Regions from separate parts of the Homo sapiens genome. Here regions 1, 3 and 4 are each linked to region 2. Evidence: promoter capture Hi-C in 16 types of primary human blood cells and fetal thymus (Javierre and others, 2016). All regions are on one chromosome and are shown on one strand. Each heading gives the region's core, a stretch centred on a gene start or on the middle of the fragment in contact. The rest is flanking DNA. Distances are from core to core; before and after follow the strand shown.

The links. The method cuts DNA at HindIII sites, captures the fragments that hold promoters and counts their contacts. A CHiCAGO score of 5 or more calls a contact.
Region 1: a contact is called between a fragment that was not itself captured here and the fragment with the promoter of RAB22A in region 2, in 1 of 17 cell types (neutrophils). The highest score is 6.7, in neutrophils.
Region 3: a fragment that was not itself captured here is called in contact with the fragment with the promoter of RAB22A in region 2 in 8 of 17 cell types (naive B cells, total CD8 T cells, neutrophils and 5 more); the score reaches 9.2 in naive B cells.
Region 4: a fragment that was not itself captured here is called in contact with the fragment with the promoter of RAB22A in region 2 in 1 of 17 cell types (neutrophils); the score reaches 6.0 in neutrophils.

Annotation. Positions count from the first base shown.
Region 1 is chr20:58,673,830-58,678,937 of GRCh38, reverse strand. It overlaps STX16 (syntaxin 16), which reads right to left. Exons shown (of 9, transcript NM_001001433.3): 9 at 1-2,751. The coding sequence ends at 2,647. The region is part of intron 8 of STX16-NPEPL1 (STX16-NPEPL1 readthrough (NMD candidate)); the gene reads right to left. Among named protein-coding and RNA genes, the nearest start is that of NPEPL1, 16 kb to the left of the region's middle. RefSeq lists enhancers at 2,061-2,585, 2,586-3,111. The HindIII fragment of the contact is 2,189 bases long and covers 1,843-4,031 here.
Region 2 is chr20:58,307,969-58,312,978 of GRCh38, reverse strand. It overlaps RAB22A (RAB22A, member RAS oncogene family), which reads right to left and starts at 3,264. Exons shown (of 7, transcript NM_020673.3): 1 at 2,967-3,264; 2 at 1,857-1,936. The coding sequence starts at 3,002. It also overlaps the pseudogene PPP4R1L. RefSeq lists silencers at 2,866-3,195, 3,236-3,795. The HindIII fragment of the contact is 7,008 bases long and covers 2,432-5,010 here.
Region 3 is chr20:58,654,158-58,659,884 of GRCh38, reverse strand. STX16 (syntaxin 16) reads right to left here. Exons shown (of 9, transcript NM_001001433.3): 2 at 251-262. It overlaps STX16-NPEPL1 (STX16-NPEPL1 readthrough (NMD candidate)), which reads right to left. Exons shown (of 23, transcript NR_037945.1): 2 at 251-262. Among named protein-coding and RNA genes, the nearest start is that of STX16, 5.7 kb to the right of the region's middle. The HindIII fragment of the contact is 309 bases long and covers 1,580-1,888 here.
Region 4 is chr20:58,700,210-58,705,895 of GRCh38, reverse strand. It overlaps NPEPL1 (aminopeptidase like 1), which reads right to left. Exons shown (of 12, transcript NM_024663.4): 6 at 4,738-4,880. It overlaps STX16-NPEPL1 (STX16-NPEPL1 readthrough (NMD candidate)), which reads right to left. Exons shown (of 23, transcript NR_037945.1): 16 at 4,738-4,880; 17 at 327-398. Among named protein-coding and RNA genes, the nearest start is that of NPEPL1, 10 kb to the right of the region's middle. RefSeq lists enhancers at 3,331-3,862, 3,863-4,395. The HindIII fragment of the contact is 2,844 bases long and covers 2,654-5,497 here.

The DNA of each region.
Region 1 (5,108 bases), core at 1,688-4,187, 370 kb before region 2:
GGAGACTGGCCTGGGTGATCGTTACCTCCACGGCCCAGTAGAGTGTGGAAAAACATGAGGTGCCCACAGACAATGGCTGCCAGCGAGTAAAGGGAAAGAAACCCTGAGGTACCATGATTCTTTTCTCTTACTTCCTCAAATGCTACTGATCTCTCCCCAAGTACAGGCTCAACAGAAAAATACAGTGGTTTGAGGACCCCAAGAAGTCAGCACACAGGCCAGGGGCCAGCTCCAGGCTGGGTCTGTCTCTCCCACCTTGGGAAACCCAGCGCTAAAACAATTTTTTTTTTTTTTTTTTGAGACGGAGCCTCGCTCTGTCACCCAGGCTGGAGTGCAGTGGTGTGATCTCGGCTCACTGCAACCTCTGCCTCCCGGGTTCAAGCTATTCTCCTGCCTCAGCCTCTTGAGTAGCTGGGATTACAGGCGTGTCCCACCCGGCTAATTTTTGTATTTTTTGTAGAGACGGGGTTTCACCATGTTGGCTAGGCTGGTCTCGAACTCCTGACCTCGTGACCGCCTTGGCCTCTCAAAGTCTGGGATTACAGGCGTGAGCCACCGAGCCCAGCCCCTCCTTAAAACAGTTTCTAATCAGATCCGTTATTTTACCCAAATGGGTTGAGGGAACAAAAACCAACCCTCATCACCCTATTTGGTGAAAATAAATATAAAAAAAGATGATCCTCTCTTAAAGGGTCACTTTCCTTCAGGGGTTTGTAAGGCTCAGCACTTTAAAAAGCTTGAACAGAAGTCCGGTATTGCCACTGTGGACTGTTTTTGAGGCAAGTTCCCTAATGTGGACAGCCCCACACCTAAGAGCAGCAGATCTAACTTGGAACGTCTCAACCATGGGTTAAAATCAGATGGGATGAAAGAACACCTGCAGTGACTCTCAACAGCTACGGAAGTCTCACATTGCAGGGCTGACTGATGAGGTGCTGGCTTCTTATTCTCCGGCCCTCTTTCCTAAGCAATGTTTGTCAGGGAATACCAGGTCCGCTTCCTGAAATGCCAGGGCCCCTCTAGGACCTTATCATTCCACAGCCACATCAGTAATAGGAAAACCACCAATGGCTACCTGGAGGTGGCACCAACTTGGAAAGGGAAGGCTGGGCAGGGGTTTGGACACTAAGCCCATGAGCTGTTTGGACAACTTCAATCTCTGGAATTGAGTTTAAATTTCTGTAAACAACTTTAAAGTCAACTCTAGAGAGACATTTTGTGTGACTGGTCCAAATAAAACAGCACATTTAATGAGGTCATATTCTTCTTAAACTTTTTAAGAGAAGCAAAAACAATGGAAAAGCCATTAAAATTTACACAAAGACCATTAAAACTCTACTAGTGTCAATTAAAACAAAGCCAATAAAACATGAACAACTTCAAAGTTACCATCACTTTCCACACTGTTCTACAGTTATAGGAATATATTCAAGCACCATATTGATAATAGGTAGGTAAACGATGAAGTCCTACTTTGGCGGTCTGACCCACGCTCACACAAACGAGGAGCTTCCTAGTCAAGATGCCCCCAGTCCTTGGCAATGTGCCTGCTTCCTGGGCATTGCTCAGTGGCAATGGAAGAGCCAATAAATCAAATCGCTGGTGGAATATTTTACTTTGAAATGGAGTGATGTTTGGTTAATAATTTGAGATCCACTAATCCTAAATGGGGTGACCCATTTAAAATGGCCTCTGTGTAAATTCACAGTTCATTAAATAGAGTCTGGTTTGAACAGGTCATTATGTAGTTAGTATATAAGTAATGGATTGAGCAAGGATGGCTGGGGATACCCATGGGGACACACTGGCTGAGTCTGGTGGCTTTCATAACACTGTCAAGCTTTCTTTTAATGTGAGATTCATTTAAATCACCAACTTAAATTTAGGTGGTTTTGCTTAGTAACCTCTTTTGGTTTACAGTAGAAAATGCAGTGCAAAAATTTTAAATGAGGAATATTCCATTTACAATTAATTTAAAACTTATGAAGCTGTTTTAACTGGCCCATCTAAATGTGTTAATTAACATCAATGATGGTTTCTTATTTTTCACACTTTGTTACTCTGATCATTAACAGTGATGGAAAAGCTAAATTAAGTTAATGGGGAACGGATTATAAATTCTTAAAGGACTTCTTAGTTTGTTTTCAACTGGAAAATATATAGAGAAAGATGAAGGGGCATTTTTGCCTCTACTCATCAATTTTTGGTACCAAATTTCTTAAAAACCAGATGGTTTAAAGAAAATTTTTCCAAAAATTATGTTAACATTCTGCTCAGACATGGCTGCTAAAAAAATAGCATATACACATATAATACTGAACAGCTTCTGCAGTGCCTGTAAACTCTCAGCTCATTTTCTCTTTCTAAAAAAAATATATATTATAACTGATCCCAGAACTCAATCTCTATTGTGCAGCAGTATCAAAGGTCCTTAAATTCTCAACAATGAAGGAAAAACAAAAACCCATTCCCCGGACCGCTTGAGCAGGACTAGGGAAGGAGGAGTCCGTGGATGCAAAGGTTCGCTGCCCCGACGCCCTCAGATTCCTCGAGGCTGCACCTCTGCGGGCAGCTGGCGGGGCGCAGGCCAAGCCCCTCACACCCGGGAGATCCACACGCGCGGCACACACGAAAACCCAATGCCACTTATCGAGACTTCACGCCAACGAGGACAACAATGAGCACAATGATGATGACAAATAATATTAAAATCACAAGCATCTTCCGATTCTTCTTTTGATACTGTTCTGCCTACAAAAAGAGGAGGGAAAAAAGGCCGTCATTTTCCCCAAAATCCCAAATCAAGTCCCACTCGTTTCCAGAATGAGGCTTCCAGATCTCTCTGCACAGTGACTGAGGTCTCTGCTACAGGCTACATGATTGTAATCCCTCCAATCAATCCCACGGAATTCAATCACCAGGAGTGGAAGAGCCCCATGATCCTGGTGCTGCTTATTTACCCTGGACGTGGAAATGGATTTGTTGGAAACCTACTACTAAGACAAAGCCTGACAGGGAAGTGAAAGCTCATGCTTCCGGGTGCAGCTGGGCCTGCTTCTCCCGGCTTTTCCTCCTGCAGGCCGTGGCAAGTGCCCCTGCAGCACGGGTCGCCTGTTCCCGGTCCGTGTTCCTGGAGCGAATGCACAGTTCCTTCACCGCGGAAGGAAACAACGGGCTGGAGGACCGTACCTGGCAGGTAGGCAACAGACACCCGGAAGAGGCCCCATTTCGACCTCCCCTAAATTTGGAAACAAAAACTCATCCTTTGAAATAAAAACAGACACGTGTGCCCCATGGATGTCATATGCAGAAAGATCCCTCTGAGGCGCGTCCTCCCAGTGCCGCTAACGATACAGCAAAGGAGCCCTCCAAGCTCAATCTGGGGACGAGGCTGCACCCTGCACATCTCTTCACCTTAACACCGCATCCTGGAAGCTCGGCAGGAGCGGGAACTCCATCATGCCTGCTAGAGAAATGCCAAAGGGCCCCACCTGGCTGGCGAAAGACGCAGAGCACTGAGAAAGGAGAGCCAGAGGACAGCAGAGTTCAGAGGGCGCCGGGAGGCACGTCCAGGGAGAGCATGCGCTGCCTCTTCCAGACCTTGCTATGGCACAGGAGGGAGGAGGAGACAGCGGGAAGGCAGCCCTGGCGAGAATGGCAATCTCTCCTGCTCCATCCCCCGCGGTGGGCTTGTTTCCTAAGTGAGCCTGCCCGCCCACCTGGAGGAGCCCCTCATCCACCAGGAGGAAACATCAGGCACGGGGACAGCACCGAGAGTCCGGTCATGGGGAGCAGCTCCCGACGCTCAATCACCCTTAGACTAGCCGACTGCCGAGCACGCGCGTGCTGCCTACAGCCTTGTGGCTGGAGGGAAGATGGAGCACGCTGACTTTTCTAATAAGTAACCCAGAACACCAGGGAAGCCAATACTAAATAATATACTGTAAAACCTCTCAAAATGATTTATAAAGTAGAACCTAAAACAAAATTTTTAGTTCCCACTAGATTTGCTCACTCCCGCAGAGAAAGCTTTTCCTTTTATCTGTGTTATATTACAAAACATATTTCACTAGTTTTTATTTAAGAAACTTCAAAACCAATGCATAATTCAGCAGCACATCAAAACCTGGGTATTACAGAGTGAGAAACTTAAGTTAGTTTTCACTTTTAATAGACAGGGCTTGGCAACCAAATTAATCTAAATGCTTAAAAAAACCCTGCATAGACAAGGTCAGACTTCTCTTCCCACCACAGGCTGGAGTCTCATATCCACCTACACATGGCAACAAGCCCCCTGAAAAGACAGCTCAGGGCTTCTGGTTAGACTAGTGCAAGGGCTGACTTTTTGTAAACCCAATACTGCTATTAAATGGGGCGATCTCTGGTATAGGAAGCGACTGATTTCAGAAAAATGGTAGAGTAGTCCAACAGTGAATTGGCAAAACACTCATTATATGGCTAGAAACTCCACTGGGTCTCAAAGATACAAGGAAATGGATATTATTTAATTTGTGAAGTATTGTTATATTCCTTTTAAAGAAAATACGTAACCAATTATATATGAGAGTCTCAGCCGTTTATGCATGTTTCTTATAACCGATAAGATTCCTAAGATGCTTTCCATCTATTTTTTTAAAAGAGAATATCATAAAAACATCCCTGAAACAGCTACCTTATTAGCACAGAATAAAAGAATTACTACTCTCACTTCAACAAACTTCTCTTTTCTCAAGGTAATACAGATATGCTGTGGTAATTAAAGAGAAGATTAGATTTTTATCTTCTGCAGAATGATTCTCCATCAGCAATTCATCAGGAATGTATCACAAGAGAGGCCCAAGTCAACGGCAACAAGCAGACAGATTTTCAACACATATTTTAGCAAATGCCCAATTGATTTCCTAAAACAAGAAGCATTAGAAAAGAATGAAATATTTTCTAAAAGAAAGAACTCCAATCTCTTTAGAATTTACTGTCACAAAAAGGAGTTCTTAGCAATTTTGGATTTAAGTGTGAGATACACCTGGAATCATTAACTGCAATAAAACGGCAACAGCCCCCACAATTGGCTTTAAATGAAATGATGAATCCCTTTTTACACTACTGTA
Region 2 (5,010 bases), core at 2,015-4,514:
TTCACTTTCCCATGCAGGTAGGGACAGGCAGGCCCTGAGAAGGATGGGGTCATGTTTTACATGTGTCATACCCAGCTCTTTCTTAAAGGACACGGAAAAGCATTTTAATTGCAGAAACTTATTGGTGAATTTCATCCCCATGCCTTCAAATGTGTAGGAGACCCACAGGGTTTAAAAAAGCAGATAGGCGGCCAGGCACGGTGGCTCACGCCTGTAATCTCAGCACTTTGGGAGGCCAAGGCAGGCGGATCACGAGGTCAGGAGAGAGAGACCATCCTGGCTAATACATGAAACCCCGTCTCTACTAAAAATACAAAAAAAAATTAGCCAGGCATGGTGGTGGGTGCCTGTAGTCCCAGCTACTCGGGAGGCTGAGGCAGGAGAATGGCGTGAATCCAGGAGGCGGAGCTTGCAGTGAGCCAAGATCGCGCCACTGCACTCCAGCCTGGGCAACAGAGCGAGACTCCACCTCAAAAAAAAAAAAAAAAAAAAAAAAAAAAAAAAAAGAAAACCAGCCGGAGTAACATGGTGCAACTCTATCTCTACTAAAAAATACAAAATTTAGCCAGGTGTGATAGTGTGCATCTGTGATCTCAGCTACCTGAGGTGGAAGGATGACTTGAGCCCAGGAGATTGAGGCTGCAGTGAGCCATGATTGTGCCACTGCACTCCAGCCTGGGTGAAAAAAAAAAAAAAAAAGCAGACAAAAAATATTGAACACATAGGCGAGGTGTGGCAGCTCATGCCTGTAACCCCAGCACTTTGAGAGGTTGAGGTGGGCAGATCACCTGAGGTTAGGAGTTCGAGACCAGCATGGCAAACACGGTGAGACCTTGTCTCTACTAAAAATACAAAATTAGCTGGGCATGGTGGTGGGCGCCCATAATTCCAGCTACTCAGGAGGCTGAGGCAGGAGAATCGCTTGAACCCGGGAGGCAGAGGTTGCAGTGAGCCAAGATTGCGCCATTGCACCGCAGCCTGGGCAAAAAGAGCGAAACTCTGTCTCAAAAAAATCCATAAATAACCTCTGACAGCAGGAGCTCATAATTTCTCAGGGGACAATCTTATGGCAGTTTCTCTCCTGGGCTGTAAAATATTTCTCTATTAGTCAAAGAATGATCTGCATGGAGCACAAAGGCCAATTTTATCCTAATGATGGATAACATAGATTTTTTCTTTAAATGCTGGAAACCATTTGAGGGTTTGATGATTAAAACTAGAGCACAGCACCTATTTAGTTTTATAAGGTTAACATAATATTAAAGCCTATAAAACACAACTTCTTATGTAGTCAAAGGATTAGTATTGCAAAATGAAAAGTTTTCTTATAGCGTCAAAAACATATGAACAATCAACTTTACTTATCCATAGAACCAGAGAACTGAAAAAACCTTCCATTTCAATATGAATTTATTAATTTATTATTACTACCAGTACAGGAATGTGTAAGGGTTCAGATCTCAACCTACTACTTTCAGGAAGGACAAAAACCATTTAAATGTCTTTTACTTGATATGCCTGAAAGAATAGCACCAGGATCTATTTTCATCTGCCTTATTTCAAGGTGTAATTGCTGTTGATATTTATAGACCGAAGCTTCTGTGTCTGTTCTAATAATTAGTAGAACTCCAATTCATATTTGCATTTTGAAGTTCTCACCCCCAACAAGTCCGAAGATAATTTTCCTAAAATACACAGATCCTCACTGGACTCTTTCAAGTCCTTCCAGAGATGATGCGAACCAGCGACTCAGAATTCAATGACTACAAAGCGCAGGGCCTACACCTGTAACACACTATGTATTTGGAAGGATTTTCAATGCACCTTTAGATGTGTATCAAATAAAAGTCTCTTACCCTATTGTTGGGTTGATGTTTGGATCAAAACTGTCTTCCACAAACCGCCACACAATACTCGATTTACCTACACCTGTATCCTGAAAGAGAACGAGATGAGGGACTGAGAAAAAGTTTACCTTTTGGCAGACACCAAAAACTACTTTGTGGCATAAGTTCAGGATTTTAGAAAAATCACCCTAGACGTGTAAATTTTATAAACGGAGGAACACAAAAGCGGTTGTCATAAAAATTCAGTAGAGTAATTAGGAAATTCCAACTGTACTAAAAGGGAGAGGTTTTTGCCGTTAAGACAGATTAGGACCTTTTGAGAGACCCAAAGTTTCTGCTTCGTGTAAAAAGTAACAAGTCCACTTGCTTTTTAACATATGTTAGTAAACTTTGAACTCCTGAGTTACCTCTGAGTAATCCCTGATGAATCCTAGCCCCACCCTATTTGGGGGAATAAAGATTAGTTATTGGAGTTCCTGCCGATCTTTAAGGCAGAAACTCTGGAATGACAGCATCAATTTCAGAAAGAAGGCTTTGAAATGGCCAACACCTTGTCTTTCCTGACAAGACAGGAAGCTGAAGCTTCAAACTAGTCTTTGGGGCTTCCTGATTTGAACACCCCTTTTCTCCACAGGAAGAGTTACTTGGCAAAGTAACTCTTTGGACAAGTGGCAGGGGTATCCCACAAGTTCAAAAACACCCAAGAGACAAAGTAGGCTAATGCTGCTTGTAAAACCTAAAGACCTGTTATTGGTTTTACTTTGGAAGACTTGGCCAACTCCCAACTAATACCTTGGTAAGTTGGGAGAAAACTATTTAAGAACCTCTCTTAACCCAGATGCAATAGAGAGGCAAGGGGGGGCTGTTTGCTCTTTGTGGGGCGGGAAGAGTCCACGGGCTCCAGGGAGGGGAAGGGGAAGGGTCCCTTCGGCCTCCAGGACCTTTTCGAGAGTGCAAGAGGTGGGCGGGACGGCTCCCGAGCTGGAGGGAGGGTCCACGGGGCTGGCAGACAGCGTCTTGGACGTGGGAGGGGGGAAGGGATGAGGGGACAGGGGGGATCCGGGGTCCCCGCCAGCCCAGCCTCCCGTGGCCCTCCCGGCCGGACCCGCCGCCACTCACCCCGAGCAGACACACTTTGAGCTCCCTCAGCGCCATGGCCCGGGAGCCAGGGGCGCGGGCCCGCCGCCGCCCTAAGTTGAGAAGGGAGAGGCCAGGCCCAGCAAGAGCATCCCCTGGCGCCGCTGCCGCCGCACGGCCCAGCCCCGGTCCGCGCAGAGGCGGCTGCCGCCCGTCCTCCGGCCGTAGGTCCGGCCTGTCCGCTGCCAGCCGCGTGGGGCCCGCCTTAGCAGCCGGGACGCCGCCGCGGCCTTCCGGGAGCCGCCGCCGCCGCCATCTTGGGACGCCGGCCGCGTCACCTGACCTCCCCGCCCACCTCGGCAGCCACCTTCGCTGAGAGGGCGGGGCCGGCCGGCCGGCGCGGATCGGGGGCGGGGCCCGAAGCCGACGGCCCCGCCCCTGTCTGCAGGGCCCCGCCCCTGTCTGCAGGGCCCCGCCCCTGTCTGCAGGGCCCCGCCCCTGTCTGCAGGGCCCCGCCCCTGTCTGCAGGGCCCCGCCCCTGTCTGCAGGGCCCCGCCCCTGTCTGCAGGGCCCCGCCCCTGTCTGCAGGGCCCCGCCCCTGCCGGTCCCGCCTCCATGCCCATCCCAAGATGGCGGGTGAGTGGGGCTGGGCTCGGGGGATGCCAGGGGTGCCCCTCTCTCTCTCGCCCCGTGACCACCCCGCGAGGCCGAGGGGCCCCTGCCCGACCCCGTCCCCTCTCGCCGCAGCCCCCTGGTAACTTCTTGTGTGTTTCTTGGTTTTCAGAGATCCCCCTGTACTTTGTGGACTTGCAGGATGACTTAGACGACTGTAAGTAAGAGTTGGGGCACCCCTGTCCCTCCCTGGGACCCTCTCAAAGAATTCAGAGTGCACGAAGCGCGGGGCGGGGGAACCTCAAGCCAGGCACTCCTTGTCGGGACCAGAACAGCGGGACCCCCAACTGCCTAGATCCACTGGTGGCGGTCCCTCCTCCCTGGGCGGGGCGGGCTGAGGGTGGGAGCCCTTCCCTTCCCTCGGGGGAAGGATTTTTGTTGTTGGGGAAACTTTGGACTCCCTGTCACTTCTTTTCTTCCTGCGCCTGCAGCTGCCGTGGGATGGGCGGAGGGGGTAGTCCCAAGTCCTAGTCGACCCTGGGCGGGCGGGGGGTCCGCCACCTGGGAGGTGGGTGACTTCCCTCTCAGGGCCTTGCCCTTTTCCTAGGGACTTTTTAGGACTGCTGGGGGGTTTGGGAGGTCCCCCTCTCGGTGTGGCCGGTCACGGAGTTGCACGGACTTCTCAAGTGTCCTGGCCACAAGCCCGGCTCCATCTCTTATCCCATGGAGCCCATTGGCCCCCGCATTTCTTGGGTGGGACCCTTGTCCCTTCTTGCCCTCTTTTTTGGAATCATGTTAAGGGCTGGTAGCTGGGGGAGGTGTCATCTTAGAAATCCAAGTTCGCATTTCTGGTGAAGGAAGGAAGCGTTTTCTCTCCTGTCAAGAAACTTACTGAGCAGCTATTTGCTCTGGGGGCCACGTGTTGGGCTCCGAACCTGCAAGGATGTGTTGAAAACAGCTCTACACGCAGGGAGCTCACAGGGTGTGGGGAGAGCCTACTTGTAAACAGAAAATTACCGAGCACCGGAGTGCTTGCTGGTGAAGAAGCCCTATATAAATCATCCAAATAGCTAACATTAATTGGGGGCGTACTGTACGCCAGTCATATACAGTACTTCCTCTCATCTTTCATTCCACATCTTCAGGTTTCCTAATAGTAAGAGTTGGTGTTTACTGAAAACTTACCATGGACCAGACAGCGTTAAACTCTTTTTTTTTTTTTTTTTTTTTTGAGACGTAGTCTTGCTCTGTAGCCCAGGCTGGAGTACAGTGGCACGATCTCGGCTCACTGCAAGCTCCACCTCCTGGGTTCACGCCATTTTCCTGCCTCAGCCTCCCAAGTAGCTGGGACTATAGGCGCCCGCCACCACTCCCGGCTAATTTTTTGTATTTTTAGTAGAGAAGGGGTTTCACTCTGTTAGCCAGGATGGTCTCGATCTCCTGACCTCGTGATCCGCCCACCTCGGCCTCCCAA
Region 3 (5,727 bases), core at 485-2,984, 350 kb before region 2:
CAAAGTTAAGACACTTTCCCAAGACTAGTAAACGATCTTCCCAAAGCCTTTTTTAAATCATCAGTTCACATGGTGTGAAAATAGATTAAATTCTACATATTAAACTGTTAAAAAAATTATAAAGTAATCAAAACAAATGCTAAATATGTATAAGCTGTTAGCATTTTATATATGAGCAAAGACTTCAGGAAAAGTAGGTATTTTATAAACTCAAATTACCCAACATATAAAAATATTCAAAACACAATACCTCGTCCAGCTCCTGAAGAGACATGTTGTCCCCATCAGTCCCATCCAGTTGGGGAAAGCACAAAGAAAGCAGCATGGGACAGACAGACAGACAAGGCATGGTCAGTTGAGAAAACACTGAGATTTTAAGCTGACTAAATATAAAGATCCACTAAGCAAGGCATTTTAAAATCTCCTTTTTTTTTTTTAAATTAAGCTACATCAATATATGCTTTAATTTTTATTTACTGTGGTTGTTTTGAAAATGAGCTAGGAAACAAGCAAAAAATGACTGTAAATATTAAAATACACTGGAAACAGATAAAACACACTTGCTTTGGTTTCACTAAAATATGCTGTTAATCTGTTTCATAAACACCAAATATCACATACAATACCACATTCTATTTTCCCTCAGGAAAATAAAATAAGAGAGCAGAGCTAAAATGTAATTTTATCATGTTAAATAAATGTATATTTTAACATGTAAATCAGACCTGCAAATGCAACAAAATTAAAAAATAAATGACCCACAAAAATTGTCTGTAGCTGTATTCAGATAACATGTGAGTGACCACATATGTAAGGTCTCTGCAAATTACATCCCGCAGACACGGCTTCATCCCTGGTAGTAAGAGAGCTGAGAAACCACTCTTTCCCGGAGAGAGACACAGGTGGCAAAATAAAAGAAAAACTCTTACCATCTCTTGGTATGTATTATTATTAGCTAGAAAGCATACAGTTATTCATAAGGCTCTTATAAAAGCAAGCAAACGAGACAAAACAAAAGGTAAGAATAATTTTTTTCTTTTAAGGGGAGGGGGAAGGGAGAAGCATGACACCAGAGGGTTAAGTTTCAATTGAAAAGTAAAGGTTCTTTTTTAGATCAACATGGAACTCTATCTTCTGGACAGACATTTACTAATGACAGATAATCTAAACAACTAGGTCTTTTTTTTGTACAGTATTGATCACTGAAATAATTAGTGGTGAAATTCAATAATCAATTGTGTTTTTTTATGTTTAGCAGTAAATTTAGAAAATAAAACATAACTTTCTTATTTAAAAATAGTGCAAATGAAGCTGCTCTATCAGGGTCAAAATATTATTAAACAATGATAGCAATAAAAATGTAATCAAACTTTACTCCACGTAAAAATTCAATTAGATGACATTATGAAAAGCTGCAAATCCTCTTCATTCCTTCCACAATTTTCTATGAGAGCAAAAAAGAACTCTATACACACCCTGCCATAATAGTAGTACTAGACGATATTAATAAATCAAATGGAAAGCTGATTTAATTACCTTTTACTTTACAAAGAAAAAATGTTTTTATTTTTTAAAAGCTTAACATTAAGAGAACATTAAAATCTTTTATTAATAAAACATGATGCAAGACAAAATCCCTAACTTGAGTATCTCAGTCTTCTTCCTATTCTGCAGCGGCTCCCTGGCATTTAATCTTTGAACGATGTACTATTGCAAACCTCGGTTAAAATCTCTGCTGCACATGTGCCTATGCTCTTGGATTATTAACCGAGCACACACACCCTGATCTTCTGATTTCTACAATTATTAGTTGATAAGAGGTGAAATCAGAATCATGGGATTCTAGGGCTAGAAATAAGTCTTTTCTTACAAATAAGAAAACTAAGCTTCAAAATGTATAAATGCATTGCTTGAAGCCACAGAGCTTGTTAATGGTCAGACTGGGGACAGACCCAGGTGTTCAGGTCTCTTTCCACCCCACCCTCCAGCCTCTCTAATTTTATTAACAATTCAGGGAATTACTTGTGATAGGCAGCTACCACCACATCAGGAATATTAAATTAAGGTCACCTTTTCAAAGACCCTCCCCACCATTCTGCTATTTAAAAATAGAAGGCTTTCAAAATTCTGTCTGCCACCAAATTACCAGGAAATTTAGTCAAGACCTGAATTAAAACATTTAGAATTACCATCAAGAAAGACCAAAATAAAGCCAAATGAAAACACGTTACTACACATCATCACCTTCTAAATCTTTATAATGTCTAAATCTAGGTTTTTGACCTTCCAATGGCATGCAATCAAGCAAACACTGAAAACTCCAAGTAGCATGTGGAATTTATAGTCTAAAGAACTTTCTACATAAAACTGAAAAATAAGTGGAAACCCATCTGTGTTTACTCAGGAAGTCTGGAAAAGTTGAGCAAAATGAGTTGGAAACACAGGTCTATGCTATAGTGATATTTACTTTATTTCCGTTACTGCCAAAATAAAAGTTTGCTTCACTTTTATCCAACAAAGTACCCTTATTCTCAAAGTAAGCCTCACTGCTCCCATGGAATCTTTAAAAGCAGAAAAGCAAGTAGATCTAAAGAGAAATATATAATGATTTCATACTTGGATTCTAAAGACAGAGAACTAATTTTCCAACAGACTCAGCTTGTACTAAAACTTAGAATCTTCAATCTGCAAGTTAAAATTGACTATGTAAGGTTCATAAAGTGAGATAAAGAAAGATGCTAGCCTATTGCAAGAAAAAAAATTGTTTTAAAACAATAGGTCCTTCCATTTTCCAGGATCTGCAGCACAAGTTCTGAAAATGCAGCCAACACCAGAGTGGCCCAGGAGGTGAGCACGGGGCTCTGAAGCCAGATTTGCCAGAGTTCCAATCACAGCCCCCAGCCATCAGGTGGGTGACACTGGGCCAGTTTCCTACCTCCTCTAAAATCTGTTTCCTTATCTGTATCTGAGAAAAACAATAGTACTTATTTGATAGAGCACTGTGAAGATGAGCTGAGCTTACACACGGAAAGGGCTTAGCCCAGAGCCAGGCACAAAGTAAACTCTCCATAAATCTTAGCTAATATTGTAGTCAAGCCTGAATAAGGACCTCAGGTTTCTTATAACCATAGTTAATCCTTAATTTCCTTTTTCCTAAAGCACACATTTTATTAAAAATAATGTGCTTATGTTTCAAACTAATCTAAGACCAATTAACGCTAGCTTCCAATTATAGATTATGCATTATTTTAAAGCAGAGTATAGATTAGGCAGTAAACACTAACAAAGTAGCTCCAACCCCTATATTAGATCCATTCCCGGAGATCGAAGGAAACCACACAAATCCATACAGAATTTCATCAGATCAGAAGAGCATCTCAATATCTACCTTTCATTCATTTCTTTATGACTTTACAATTTGTTTTGAATAATTGTTTAGCTTCATAAATCCATTTCAGTTTCCTAAAGCCAAGCTGCTTGAATGAGTTGCTACCTTAAAACCTGCACTTGGCTGGCATAATAATGTGAAAGTTACTTTTGCACAGTACTGGGGCTACTTCTAAGGATTTCTGTCAGTAACCTTGGACTGACAGCTACAACACTGTTGACTATGAATTTCTCCTTTTCAAATTAAAGCTAAAGTCAGGAGAAACAATGTATTAAAACAGAACTTGAGAAAATACTGTTGAATCGATAGGGCTGCTGGAAATCACCTAACCCAAACCCCTCAGTTTACAAATGAGGCAAAAAATGTCCGAAAAGATTAAAGGCTTGCCTAAGGACACACTCTGAGCCTGCAGCAGAACAGGACTTAGGCCTCAATTCTCAGATTCAATTCTCAGTGCTCTTTCCTTTATTTCATGCTGCCCTGAGGCATGAACGTGATGGGGCACTCAAAACTGAGGCCAAAGTAAAATGCATGGGAAATACGACTGTATTTTGTTAGGAGTGCATAAAGTCAAACCTGTCTGTTTTTTTACAATTAGTTTTACTAACTTTAATACAACTAAGAACACAAAAAAGTAGAATTTTGCTCAGTTCTGGATGCTGAAATCTAAAAAGGATACAGAAAAACTAAACATCATTTATAGGAAAAAAGCATAACCACTCTGAGCCGGGAATGCTAGGCCTGGAAAGAATTCTGGGTAACAAGGCTGCAGGGTTACCAGACAGAAGGAAGACCCGAAGGAACAGAACTAAAAGCAGGACCCCAGGACACAAATAGTTGGGATTAACAGGCAAAGACTTTTTAGTGGTAAAAATCATGGAGCTGCTGGCATTTTCCATCATTGTCATACACCATGGCCAAATAAGATAGGCATGAGGGGTTATCACAAATGGGGACATTAGGCCAAATGACCTTTAGGTTCCTTCTGGCCCTTGAGGCTTTGTGTTTATCTGGTCACTGCGTATCCTCCTTAAATTCCTGTTTATTTGACATATTTGCCTGAATGCTGCAAAACCCTGTATGCACGCACAGGGACACACAATAACCCCACTACAACAACCAAATTCTAGTTTTTTCCCTCAAACTAGGATGCAAAAAATGCATGTTTAAATTTTTTGAATGGCATGGCTTTAGGTGTGCTTTGCTTTGAGGTGTATGATACACACTACTCTGCAATTAATTTCTGCAGCTTTTTCCTGAAATAAGATGTCAAAATTCAGGATTACAATTTTTTTTTTAAAAAGTCTGTTATTTTAGGTGTATTTTTAGTTGGTATCAAATGCATCAAGATCAAAGTCTACAGCTTTTTCTTCTAATTGGAAACTTAAAATTCCAGGTTATTATTTTTTAAATTAAGTTAAACTTAGGTTTAATTTCTTCCTTTCAAATTGCCTGAGTGTTAGACATGTATTTACAAATTGCCTCTTTTTAACTGTTTTACTTTACTATAACAAATATACTTACTTTAAGTTTCTATTTAAAAATTTTCAAACATGCAGAAAAGCCTACAAAATGGTAAAATGTCGCACACATACTCATCACTAGACTTAACAATGAGTAACAATTTGCCTTATTTGCTTCCTCTATTTTTGGAGGGGTTTAAGGACTTAGGTAAGATGCCTTGACATTTCACCACTAAACATTTCAGTAGGCATCTCTAATAAAATTAGCAAATGTAATGTATTATAATTAATTCCTTAATGTCACCTAATACCTAGTCCATATTCAAAATTTGACAGATACGATTTTGTTTGGTTTGCTACATGGCTTTGAAATTTACAAGTCAGAAACAAGGCTTTAAATTTTTTGTGAGCTAGATATGCAGTGAAAAGCATTGCTAAGAGTTACTCAATAGATTTTACAAATTGTGTTAAACATGGCTTTTGCTTCAAAATGTTTATAAAGCTTTTCCAACTTCCAGAAAAGTTGAAAAAATCATAACCTCTATTTAGTCTTGTTAGCATTTCGCCGTACTGTGTGCAGAATAGATTTTGTTACGAATCACCTGTAAGCAAAGTGAAGATGTAACACTTCAACCCTAAATACTTCAGAAATTTATGACATGCCATTTTTTAACACAATTAAAATATATAAATCTGTGTTTTATTTTTAAATTTGAATTCAGGCAAACTATGTTTGTTAGACTGCAAAACCTATTTTTGAGATAGTATGGATTGACTATAAGGATATTTTAAATGATATGACTGCTTTCAATGATCTGAGAAAGATTTTAAATGGTCAGACTAATATAAATATTAACATTTTCAATGGTATGACAT
Region 4 (5,686 bases), core at 2,826-5,325, 390 kb before region 2:
CTCTTCTGAGCTAATCTGTTTGAGAAAGCACAGGATTGTTTAAATGGAAAAACAGGGCCTCCGATCTGGAATCAAACCATGTGCAAAATGGGTCACACAGCAATGCCTGGAAACGGCTGCTCACTGTACACCATGTCTCCCCCGTCACAGCTGCCAGCTCCTTCCCAATTGCAGGTGGAGCCAGGACTGGGCTTGCAAATACAGCTCAACTGATTGATTGTGCAAAGTTTCACCAGCCCCCATATGTTGTTTCTGTTTTTATAGAAGAAACCATTTTCGCAGTGATTTAAGACGGTCTCTGCCTTTTTCACGGGGCTGACACTTACACCCCCTGTGCTGGAGTATCAGGCCACAGTCCCAAAGAGGTCCGGGAGCCACTGTATTCGTTTCCGTGCCCTCTGGGAAAATGAACCAATGCCAATTTCACGTTAGAATTTCCTTGCTGAAGCAGTAAAATTAATTTTTAAAACTCTCAACCCTTGGGTACAATACATTTTCCATATTCCGTGTGACTCATAATGTACTCCTGCTGTTGCTGACGGGCAGTGGTCGGTCAGAGCAGAAGCTCAGCTGTGATTGCTGGGGGAGTTCTGAGCTCCATGAGCCACTCTGGCCACGACACCATCTTTACTTGAAAGAAAAACTGACAGACAAATGGCATTTAATTGGATTTAGGTATCTGGCAGATATTTCCCAGAAAAGGAACAAACTGAGCCTCTTACTTCCAGAAACAGCTGACATTATTTATTGCCAATGGTATACATTTGAGCTTTTAAGCAAAAATCAGAATTTTGAAAAACTTTCTCCTATCACCATGACAACTTCCTCATAATGAGTTTTCTGATGAGATGGATGGTGATATTAAGTGATTTTTTGATACTATATAATGTAATGTGTCAAAAATTTGAATTTCTGCAGAACTCTGTGAACCAACATTTTTCAAGTGAACATTCATTTTTCCATGAAAAACCACATGTTCAAAGTGAGAGAGAACAGCGGATTTAACTGCCACAGAGCCCAAAAGTCTATTCATGAGGCTTCAGATTCCATGTTATAACCAGCCTTTAAGAAGCTACCACTTGTTGAGTTTTGGTGTAGTAGCAAAGAATGTTCATAGTTAGTTAGCTGAAAAAGGTACTAAAATCCTTTTCCCTGTTTCAACTATAAAATGCGTGAGGCCAGATTTTCTTGATACAGTTCAACTGAAACAACACATTTCCATAGACTACATCGGAAGCAGACGCAAGGTCCCTAGCTGTCTTCTATTAAGCCAGACACTGACAGGATTTGTGAAAATGTACAACAATGCTACTCTCTCAGTAAATTATTTTTTCATTTTGGAAGATGCTTATCTTCATAAAATTATTTATGATAACATGCAATGGATTTATATGTTATTTTTAATGAATTATACATGTTATAAATTTCTCACTTTTAATTTCCAGTAGAGTAAATATCAATAGACATTGTTATACAAAAAGCCTCTTTGGGGTCGGTACTTGTTAAGAGCGTAAAGGGGTCTCCAGTAATGCATTTGAGGCCTGCTAGTCCAGGCTGGTCTTGAGCTGCCCTTGAAATCTTTGAAAATGGAGCTGTGATTTTTTTTTTCTTGCAAAACTGGGAGCTGGGCTGGCTCCAGCCGGCTTGCTTTTTGAGGAGTGACCATTTCTGCACCATTTGCTCTACAGGCAGCCACTGGGGAGAATGCCTGCTGCGTTGCGTCTGCGTTTCACACCAGGCCGTTGGGGAGAGATTGTGAGCGCCTTCAGGTCAGGATTGGGGTCTTTGCATCAATGGCTGGAGCCTCAGCGCCCACTCCACACAGTAACAGCTCAGGAAAGGCCTGCTGGTTGATCCCAAATCCACGTAGAACGGTTCCAACTGCAGCGGGGAAGATGGGCTGGTTTAAAATAAAAAACCAGGTATTGTTTCACTGGTGCCAGAACACCCAGCTCTTCCTGGTATTATGGGGTCTGCAGACCAGGTGGACCCCGGGAATAGGCAGGGGCTATAGTCGCATTTTCAGAAGGTGATCTGGAGCCATGGAAAATGCCCTACTCTCTGGCAGTTCTACCAGCCACCCTCAGACCACAGCTTCCCTGAAGGCTGTGCAGCTGTGGCCTCTAGGGAAGGCCTGTGTGGTCAGGTTTTTCCTTTGTGTTAATTTCCAGGCCGGGAGCTGACTAACTGCACAGGTCTACCCACAGCCACATGAGATGAAGTCAGGTGCAACGATATTTTCCCTAAGTGACTAGAGTTAGTGCCACAAGCAAACGAATGAATTCCCAGGAAGCTCATCTTCTCACATTGGTCCACAACAAGCCGACATCAAAAACAAGCATCTGATCCAAGGAGAAGAGGGTCCACGACTCTACCAGCCAGAATGTAGCGGCTTCCAGGGTGACCGTGGGTATTGAGGGTGCGTGCGAGGGTGGGAGCAGCCAGTACCAGGTGCAGGCAGTAGGGGGTGCACTATCTGTGGCGAATTTAGGAATCATAACCGACTAGAAGTCAGTTTGCTTATTACCACCGTGTGCCGGTATCTCTGAACAAAGTCAGCAATAACATATTCCTCCTCCGAAAATCTGTTGTTGATTGAAGTTTAAAAAATTGCTGTGGCTACGGTTGCGTTTTAATCACACAAACAAAAGCTTCAAATTCGCATATCGTTGTTACTTATCCTGAAAGTAACATTACATGGACGTTAGCAATGACCCGACACAAAATCTACTACCCACATTCCTTCTGAGAATCGCTCTGACAGTCAGATCCTGTGGGCTGGCTCTGGGCACAGTCGGGGCCTCCAGGGCCCATGATTTCCTACCTCCCGGTGTCGAAACAGAGGACCCAAAATAAAACACGAGAGTGCGGGATGGTCAAAACGAAGACGCGGAACCTGCGTTCCTTCACTTCCCTCATTCCATGTGAACACTTGGAGTTACTGTGTCCAAAATGCTTTTGTTCTGCAGACATCTGAAAGCCACAAGAATCCACCCTGAAGAACTGAACACACAGTGGGTGTTGTGATTGCTGGAATTTACTGTGAAATGGGATTTTTAAGAATCTCTGCCAAATGATACCGTATTAAAGACTTTTCCTAAGTATCTGTGTATCTGTTGCCTCACGAGATTGGAGCTCTTCAAAATCAAAGTTAACAGATAGTATTCTTGGACCAACTATGAGTGAAGACAGCTGGCAACTCTGCCTACTGAACATACATTAGTAAAGAAGATCAATTTAAATGAAACCATTGTCAAACGTGTAGATGCTAAGACCCAAAGCCAGAAACAAACATTCATTCCACCATCTATTACCCCAAGAGACCCATAGGGAGGCATGTTTTTTCTATTAAAAAAAAACAAAAAACCCTTTTTATGATTAGTGTCATTTTCTGCTTAGTTCTAAACAGTTTTGTGGTTTAGAGGAGGGATGGGAACTGCTCATCCTCTCCAGGTATGAAATAAACTAGGCGTGCTAGAGAGCGCGGCGAGCTGCACCAGCGCCACCCTGAACAGCAGCTGACACTAGGGCTCAGTGTCAGGAAGGCAGCAGCAAGTGGTGGGGCCTACCGCAAACCAAACTGGAGAATGGGTGACACCAGGGGCAGGCCCACTGGCTGCAGGGGAATGCTGCCAGGCGGGAACAGAACGCCAGCACTGGCAGACCTTCTGAGTGCACAAAAGGCCGGAAATCCAGGCTTTGATGAGAATCCTTCCTGGTTTCAAATATTGGTAGCTAATTCAAATTTTAAAAATGCCAGGCCTCCGTGAGCCTTGCAGGCTGCTAGTTTGCAGTGTCTGCTGCGGATGCACTCCCTGCTCCTTCCAGACCTCCTGAGGTATGTACTTCCCAGTCTGCTCCCTCCCTGTCCTTCCCAGCCCAGGCCTGAGCACAGAGGCTGCTCACACGGTGTGTAGGATGAATGGATGGAGATGGTGCGGAGGAGGGCAGGGCTTGCTGGGGCGGGCAGACTCGGCCACGACGGGGGCTCCACAAGCACCTGTCCTCCTGGGATGGCAGGACAGAAAGCCGTACCACGGGACAGGCTTCTAGGGCCACCGCACCGGGATGTTCCCGGGTGACTCGCTTCTGTGCCGTGCCCAGATTCCCCTCGCTCTTGGGGGTCACGTGCCTTTGGAGGGTCTTGTGTGGCCACTCTGAGCGTTTTCTCAGTGGGGACCATGGGCAGACTCAGAGACACAGGCGTCCCCTTGCCCTTCTCTTCTCGGGACAAAGCCCCCAAGCAGCAAGCCCTGCCTCCCTGGCCCTGCTTGCCATTTCTTCCGTCATTTCCGGGGCTGCTCTTGGGCCCTGGCCAGGCTTTTGTTTCCAGACCCTTCTGAAGGGTGGGCATGAAACCCAGGGAGCCACGTGAAGCTGTCGCCTCAGCACATGGGAACCCGCCCTGCGCACTCTCCCCGAACCCACCCCAACCCAGAACCCCCAGAAACCTCGCCGCCCCCCACCCCATGACACCTCTCAGAGGGCTGGCTGGACCCAAACTGGGCCCCTCCCCCCCCCCCAGGGCACCCTGGAGAGCCTGCCGGCACCTCACCTTCCCCTCCCCACCCCACCCCACCCCAACCCCAGGGCACCCTGGAGAGCCGGGCCCACACCTCACCTTCCCCTCCCCACCCCACCCCACCCCACCCCCAGGGCACCCGGGAGAGCCGGGCCCTGCACCTCACCTTCCCCTCCCCTCCCCCAGGGCACCCTGAGAGCCAGCCCGCACCTCACCTTCCCTTTGATGCTGAGGCCTCCAGTGTCATAGACGATGCCTTTGCCCACCCAGGCGATGGTCTGCGTGGCTCCATCTGGGGTGTGGCTGAGGACGGCCAGGGCTGGGGGATGCAGGGCGGCTTTGCCAACCCCATAGATTCCTATGGAAAGCGTGGGGAGAACTGGGTTAGGCTCGGGCTGAGCTGAGCGGGGAACTCCCAGAGGCCCCTGGAAACTCTGGCCGGCTGGTGTTTCTCCTGGAGAGCCGCCTGCCTGAGCCTGGTGCTCCCTGCCCCTTCTCCTGCCCCTGGCCAGTGTGGGATTGGGGAATGCAAATTAGCTCCAATGTCTGAGATTGCAAACAAATTCTATGCAAAGTGTTGTTTGTTAAGCAAGAAAACCCACTAAGGGAAAAAAATATTGTATCCTTTCCAGAAAGAAAAGAACAGGATTGCAGAATGAAACGATGTTTGGATAACACCTCAAGGCTGCCCCAGCCCATGCTCGTCCCCACTTCCTGAATCCTTTGAGCACTCAGGGACTGCACCGCCCTTTCACACTCGCTCCCACAGTCCCTGCACCACTGCCTCTTTGGTTTACATGACACATCTTCTCAAGAAAGCTGTGGCCTGTGCGTGTGCAGAGTCTATGGCTCAAAGTCCTGCAATAATTGAGTCAAACAATCATAGCAACAATGACGAGAGCTAATCATGGCTGCCTGACAAACTCCAACTCATCCTGTAAGATCCACAGCAAATGCCACCTCCTCTGTGAAGCTTTTCCTGACACAAGCGGCCTCTCCCTCCACTTGTAAATGGCTCCTGTCTAGGTAGACACCACCAGGATGGCCCCTGTGGCCCCCACGTCTGGGTATTCATGTCCTTGTGCAGTCCCTCCCCCTCATGTGAGCAGGTCCTGATGTCTCACCTCTAACCAAAAGAAAAAGGTAGAAGTGATGAGATATCAC